Regions from separate parts of the Homo sapiens genome. Here region 1 is linked to region 2. The links are contacts of gene promoters, found by promoter capture Hi-C in human tissues and cell types (Jung and others, 2019). All regions are on one chromosome and are shown on one strand. Each heading gives the region's core, a stretch centred on a gene start or on the middle of the fragment in contact. The rest is flanking DNA. Distances are from core to core; before and after follow the strand shown. Region 1 overlaps COG3 (component of oligomeric golgi complex 3). Region 2 holds the start of COG3 (component of oligomeric golgi complex 3).

Region 1 (3,673 bases), core at 133-2,632, 42 kb before region 2:
GACTCTGGCGACTGTGAGGAAGAGCAGGTGGGGAGTATGGTTGAGCAAAGACACCTCTGTAAGGGAAGTACAATCACTTCTGGGTCGAGGGACCAAATTTCAAATGAACCATGAAAAGTGGAGCTGGTATAATACTTTGAGACAACAGGTGATATTGAAAGATGGACTAGGCATTAGAGGACATTAGCAAACTCATTAAATTTTTAGTGCAATAATGGTTTATTGTTAAGTAAAAGATGTCGTTATTTTTTGGAGATGCTGAAATACTCAAGGGTGAAGTGTCAATGACGTCAATAATTTAAAATGGTTCATAAAATATATATTTACACACACACCCCAACACATACAAATACACACATACACATATATGTATATATATGTGTATGTGTGTGTGTGTGTGTGTGTGTATATATATATATATATAAAAATATATATAAAAAATAAAATGTTAAGTCTTGAATCCAAGTTGTGGGTATGGGTGTTCATCATTCATCTTTCTTTCAACTTTTCTGTATATTTGGAATGTTTTCAATAATAAGAAAATAGAAGTAGATCTATGATACACTGGTATTAAGTTACAGAGCAAACATTAATTCCTTTTTATAAATGGTTATAGCAGCATATTCTTACAAGAAGGCCTGTAGGTTGTATAGCACAGATTTGAGGGGAAAGGGATGAGGGAGAAAGGTTGAAGCTTAGTGCTTTCTTTCCTTTTTTTTTTTTTTTTTTTTTTTTTTTTTTTAGGTTGGACCTAGGCTCTGTCACCTAGGCTGGAGTGCAGCGGCGCAATCTCAGCCCACTGCAACCTCCACCTCCTGGGTTCAAGTGATTCTTCTGCCTCAGCCTCCTGAGTAGCTGGGATCACAGGCTCATGCCACCACACCCGGCTAATTTTCTGTACTTTTAGTAGAGACAGGGTTTCACCATGTTGGTCAGGATGGTCTTGATCTCCTGACCTAGTGATCCACCCACCTCAGCCTCCCAAAGTGCTGGGATTACAGGCATGAGCCACCACACCCAGGCTTTTTTTTTTTTTCTTTTTTTCTGAGACAGAGTCTGGCTCTGTTGCCCAGGCTGGAGTACAGTGGCACAATCTCAGCTCACTGCAACCTCCGCCTATTGGGGTCAAGCAATTCTTGTGCCTCAGCCTCCCGAGTAGCTGGGATTACAGGCATGTGCCACCACACCCAGCTAATTTTTGTATTTTTAGTAGAGATGGGGTTTTGCCATGTTAGTCAGGCTGGTCTCAAACTCCTGACCGTGGGTGATCTGCCCACCTCGGCCTCCCAAAGTGCTGGAATTACAGGTGTGAGCCACCGTGCCTGGCCAGTACTTTCACTTTACAATTCTGTAAGCTTTTTTTCCAAAAACAAGTACTACTTGTAAAATTTTTTTTTCTCTCTCTCTCACCACTCCTATTTAACTTGTATAATTTTTAAATTTCTTCCATAAGAGCTCACTTTAAACTAACATTTAATTTGTATTAAGTTTCTTAAAGAAAAAGAATAAACAAATTACATCAAAGAATATTTAGGAGATGAAATATTTATAGTTTTCCTTAGGAATATGGTATGTGCAGGATCCCTTCTTCAAAATAAAGTGCCAAAAGAATTCTCCCAAATAAAAGTTTAGTCAAACAAATGTGTTTAAGTACTTTAAAGCCAGAAGTCAGCTTGTGTTCATTTTTTCCCTTTCCTATGTAACTAATACTAGTTCACCGGGGCAAACCCTCAAAAGCCAAGTGCCCTCTGGCTGCCACTCCTGAGGAGCAGAGCAGGCCCCGGGACCAGGGCTTCTCCCACAGCCCTCCTGCACGTCTGCCTCCGTCGTCCTCCACGGGCCTCACCTCCCCCTTACTTGCTCTACATACAGAACAAAGCTGTACTTTTTGAAGGTACTGATAACTGGTCTCTTCACAAGATGGGTCCCTCCACCAATCTGCCCTGACACCTCCTTGTATGCCATGAACTTCACATCATTTAAAGCCCTCCTTTCAGAGGCTTCTCATTCTCTCACTTCCAGCTTTAGAGGTGGGAACCAGGGAACCGGGAAACCAGGAAAAGTGATTATGACTATTCTTTTTGGTTTTGCTCCACTTCCTACCTGACTCAGAGCCTTGCTTTCCACCCCAAGTTCTATCGCCATTGTGATAACACTGATAACTGCACAGATGACGAGCTGTTCATCCTTACCTTCTCAACTCCAAAGACTTTCTCTTCCATCCTCACACCCCTACCCCAGGGGCAGATTTTCTTAATACTCGCAGAATCGCATTCTTATTACTTTCCACAGACTTCCTTCTTCCTCTCAACTGTTCCACCTCTAAAGTTTTAAAACTTAGCATGCCACTTTATAACTACAATGTTCTTGAGATTTCGATCTTCTCACCTGTTTACGCAAACTACACTGCCAACCCCTCCTCCTCTGACATCAATCACACCCTCTCACTTGCCCACTTCTGACCACGCTGGCTGTTCTTTCTTGGTGGGCTTAGTTTACTCCTCTATCTCCATTTGCTCCTTAACGTCAGCACTGGCTCAGTTTCTCTCCCAAGACGTCTGCTACAGTCACTCTACAATCTGTCCTAGGATGATCTTACACAAGCCCAAAGCACCAACTACACCTCATCCTTTATTTCTAAATCAGTCTTTCTCTCTACAGCTCTACGGCAGTGCTGTTCAATGGAAATATAATGTAAATCATAAATGTGACACAGTAAAACGTCACATTTTAAAAAAGTAGAAAAGTTAGCTAGGCGTGATGGCATGAGCCTACACTCCCAGCTACTTGGGAGGCTGAGGTGGGAGGTTGGCTTTAAGCCCAGGAGGCAGAGGTTGCAGTAAGCCAATATCATGCCACTGCACTCCATCCTGCCCGACAGAACCAGACCCTGTCTCCAAAAAAAGAGTAAAAAGAGGCCAGGCACAGTGGCTCACATCTGTAATTCTAGCACTTTGGGAGGCCAAGGTGGGAGGACTGCTTGAGCCCAGGAGTTCAAGACCCATCCTGGGCAACATAGCGAGACTCCATGTCTATTAAAAAAGAAAAAAATGGCTGGGCATGGTGGCCCATGCCTGTAATCCCAGCACTTTGGGAGGCCAAAACAGGAGGATTGCTTGAGCACAGAAGTTCGAAACCAGCCTGGGCAACACAGCGAGACCTCATCTCTTTGAAAGAAAAAAAAAAAGTAAAAAGAAAGCAGGATTGGTCAGGCGCAGTGGCTCACGCCTGTAATCCCAGCACTTTAGGAGGCCAAGGCAGGCAGATCACTTGAGGTCAGGAGTTCGAGACCAGCCTGGCCAACATATAGTGAAACCCCATCTCTACTAAAAAATACAAAAATTATCTGGGCGTGCTGGTGTGCACCTGTAGTCCCAGCTACTCAGGAGGCTGAGGCAGGAGAATTGCTTGAACCCGGGAGGCGGAGGTTGCAGTGAGCTGAGACTGCACCACTGCACTCCAGCCTGGGCAACAGAGTGAGACTCTGTCTCTCAAAAAAAAAAAAGGAAGCAGGATTAATTTTAGTATATTTTATTCAATCCAATATGTCCAAAATATCATTTTAACATGTAATCAATATAAAAATTACTAATAAGATATTTTCCTTTTTTTTTTTATTTTTCTGAGATGGAGTCTCACTCTGTCGCCCAGGCTGGAGTACAGTGGCACAATC
Region 2 (3,913 bases), core at 368-2,867:
CGCCTTCATTGATTTCAGATCCACTTCCGGTACCATATCCTAGAGGTGGAAAAAGAAACCCAAGAAAGAACGCCTATTTGATGGCTGAGCATACAACAGTGAATGTGAAGAGAACGTTTAAATCAAATCTCTAAAGTTGGAGGACAGAAAAAGTTGAAGACTCTAAACTCAATCTGCATTTGGACACAATTCCAAATCGTATAAAAAGAATGCTTCAGGCCAGGCACGGTGGCTCACGACTGTAATCCCAGCATTTTCGGAGGCCGAGGCGGGCAGATCACTTGAGGTCAGGAGTTCGAGAACAGCCTGGACAACAGGGCGAAACCCCATCTCTACTAAAAATACAAAAAATTAGCCGGGTGTAGTGGCAGGCACCTGTGATCCCAGCTACTCGGGAGGCTGAGACAGGAGAATCGCTTGAACCCGGGAGGTGGAGGTTGCAGTGAGCCGAGGTCACGCCACTGCACTCCAGCCTGGGCGACAGAGCGAGAGAAAAGAATGCTTCCAACATCAAAAGTAACCATCACCACTGCTTATATAAAATAATCCTCCTAAACCTGGCCCTCAAAACTGGAAAACGTTTGTCAAACATCTGACAATTCATGTTACTTCCTGCTATTACAACTAATTGAATTGAATCACACAAGAAGCAGTAGTGCATAATATCCTAATGGTAAGTGGATTAAACACATTGACTCTAACACCGAAAACCAGCACTGCTTAATAATGTACTGAGCCAACTTTCAAATAAAATTCATTTTTATTGCTTTGCAATAGGTGAAATAAATCTGATCTCCCATAACTTGCACTTGATTGAGAGCTCATAGTTCAATGTGCGATAAATGAAACTCACTCAGGACCAAGTTTTGGTCTCCCCAAGACCCCCATGGACAAAGCAACCTAGGTGAATCATTAAGGCGGTAAACGAGCACGCGCTGGAGACTGTCCTGCAGCACAGCACCTCGGGTTGACTGCCTCTCCTTCTGGGAGAGAGTGGGCAGCAGGATTACGCCTCGGCTGACAGGACGCCTCGTCTGGGGCAAAACGTTCGGTGCAAGGCTCCGGGCCAACCGTCCCATGCTGCTGGGGGAGGACTGGGTTCCGGCGAGCACCAGCTGCAGGACACCCCCACAGCCGTCCCCAGGCAGAATTAGAGTCGGGGTCGCAGGCAGAGCGAAGCCTGACAGCCTGGGAGATGAGGCCCCTCCCACCGGATCCGCCACCATGGCCAGGGAGGAGTGGAGAGATATCCTGGGCAGAGGCTAGTGAGGCCGGGGTCCTGCCGGGGCGCCCGAGGAGAATCCCAGCCCCATCGCCCCGGCCCGGTTCCTGCCCATCACCTCACCTCAGCTGGCACCGGCAAGTTCTCTGCCGCCGCCTTCAGCTCCAATACCGAGTCCGTCTGCCTGTCGGTCAGCGGCGCCGTCGTGTCCGGTCTCCGATCCCAGAGAGCCAGCTTTTCCCTAGCGTCCCGCTCCGCCGCCGCCTCAGGCAGCAGCAACAGCGCCGCCTCCGCCATCGCCGCCGCCCTCGCGGCCTTCAGCAGCAGCGAGATGGAGGGGACCCCGACAGAGAGACCTGGGCCACTTCCGGGAGAACCGGAGCTTCCAACACTGCACCGGCGGCGGGGCGGGACGGAATGCCCTGACCCCGGAAACGGTTCCGCAGTGTGGGGGGCGGGACCGAGGCCAGTACCGACGTGGCTTTAAATGGGTACGACTATTTCCGGTTGAAACGTAGAAGGTGGAGAAGACAGGACCCAATGGAAATAGAAATGCCCCTACCGGAAGTCTTTTCCTCAACATCAATAACTTTATTGTTACGTGTTGTACAGATTATTGACAACTGCGCTAAATCACCCTGCCGGCAGGAGACTTGGATCTACACCTCTCTGCTTACAGCTGGGTAGTCTGGGTAGAATGTGTGGAGTGTATGATTTCCATGTTGGCATGTTGACAATTTATGCCTCTTGGATCAAAACCAAAAGCATAAACTTTTCCAACATCCAGTAATTCCCCTACTAGAAAACTAATTTACGGAAACACATAAAAAATTCAAAGATGTGTGTATCTCAGACATCATTAATGGTATCAAATAACTGGAGACAACCTAAATGTCCAACATTGAAGAACTGGATCAAGAATTTGTGGCACAGACCAGGCGCGGGGGCTCAGGCCTGTAATCTCAGCACTTTGGGAGACCGAGGTGGGCGTATCACCTGAGGTCAGGAGTTTGAGACCAGACTGGCCAACATGGTTGAACCCCGTCTCTACTAAAAGCACAAAAATTAGCCAGGCGTGGTGGCACATGCCAGTAATCAGCCTGAGAGGCTGAGGCAGGAGAATCTCCTGAACCTGGAAGGTGGACGTTGCAGTGAGCAGAGATCTTGCCACTGCATTCCGGCCTGGGCATCAAGTGAGACTGTCTCAAAATGTATAATAATAATAATTTGTGGTACAGACATGTAATTCTACTCTACCATTTAAATCATATTGTAGATTTGAGCAACAAAATAAATAATGATAGTATTGGATCATAATTTACAGAATAAAATAAATACCCATGAGTCCATACTGCTATAAATAAACGATTGAATAAATAAATGGTGGAGAACAGACAATCTTCTACAAGTTATGGAGGCCTCTTCCTGCTCCTCCCTGGAGTCAAGGCAGGTGGAAACAGCTTCGTAGCAATTTTGACCATTGTCTGGGTAAAGTCTGAAGGCTTTATTCAGGCTTTATAGCACAAATCAGTGCCTGGCTATGTTCCCAAATGAAGGCTCTGATCTTTTAAGAGCAGAATTTGAGACCGGGCGCAGTGGCTCACACCTGTAATCCCAGCACTCTGGGAAGCCGAGGTGGGCGGATTACCTGAGGTCGGGAGTTCGAGACCAGCCTGATCAACATGGAGAAATCCCGTCTCTACTAAAAATACAAAAAAACTTAGCTGCGCGTGGAGGTGCATGCCTGTAATCCCAGCTACTCGGGAGGCTGAGGCAGGAGAATCGCTTGAACCCAGGAGGCGGAGGTTGCTGTGAGCCAACGTTGCACCATTGCACTCCAGCCTGGGCAACAAGAGCTAAACTCTGTCTCAAAAAAAAAAAGAATAGAATTTGAAGTTGGAAGAGAATTTTAAAATCATATAATCAAGCCCTTTCTGTCTACAGAGGAGCAAACTACAACCCGTAGAGGTGAAGCAAGCAGCCTAACATCCTGCAATCAGGTGGTTAACATCAGCGTCACCACTGGAACTTAGATATCCTGACTGTGTCTGACACCCTTTATATACCACAGCTTCTCCAAGTTGCCTGCTGTACAAAGCCCTTAAAAAATCTGCAGATCCCCAATGTTGATGTAAATAATTGTATTATATTGCTTAAGTATGAACAAAAATAAGACTTGACATAAGCTTTGGATGTTTATACCAAAATAGACATGCAAGTTACATGCCAACAGAAATATAACTAACATATAACGGTATATAACCAATAACATTCACATTAACAACTCAAGTGAGATGTGGGATATTATTTTGCTGGAAAACGAAATTGCTTCTGGCAACACGAAGACAGTCCTGACTACTGCTATACAGCTGCTTGGGAGTTCATCACACTTCTGTTATACCAGCAGCATGCTGTGTTCCCCACCATTTGAACTACTGGGAACACTTGACTCAGGGTAAATCCCTAATACCATTTTTCCTTTATCTGGCTTGTATATATCATTTGCATATTAAAACAACCCTGCTGTTTTTAGTAGCTTTATTAAAAATATTCTATATGCACAAACAAGGAGGGTGGAAGCTGAAATCATGTGGTAATCCTAAACTATAAAACTGTCATGTTGGTGATCCAGAATATGCATGAATATAGTTTTAAGAGTTGAAATGAGGCTGGGTGTGGTTGCTCACGCCT

The links. Contacts are between HindIII fragments. The study calls those that stand out against the background at their distance.
Region 1: a contact is called between a fragment that was not itself captured here and the fragment with the promoter of COG3 in region 2, in 2 of the 25 tissues and cell types used here (mesenchymal stem cells and mesendoderm cells).

The regions. Positions count from the first base shown.
Region 1 is chr13:45,505,138-45,508,810 of GRCh38, reverse strand. The region is part of intron 14 of COG3 (component of oligomeric golgi complex 3); the gene reads right to left. Among named protein-coding and RNA genes, the nearest start is that of COG3, 42 kb to the right of the region's middle. The HindIII fragment of the contact is 4,110 bases long and covers 1-3,437 here.
Region 2 is chr13:45,462,643-45,466,555 of GRCh38, reverse strand. It overlaps COG3 (component of oligomeric golgi complex 3), which reads right to left and starts at 1,617. Exons shown (of 23, transcript NM_031431.4): 1 at 1,346-1,617. The coding sequence starts at 1,519. The HindIII fragment of the contact is 8,447 bases long and covers 1-3,913 here.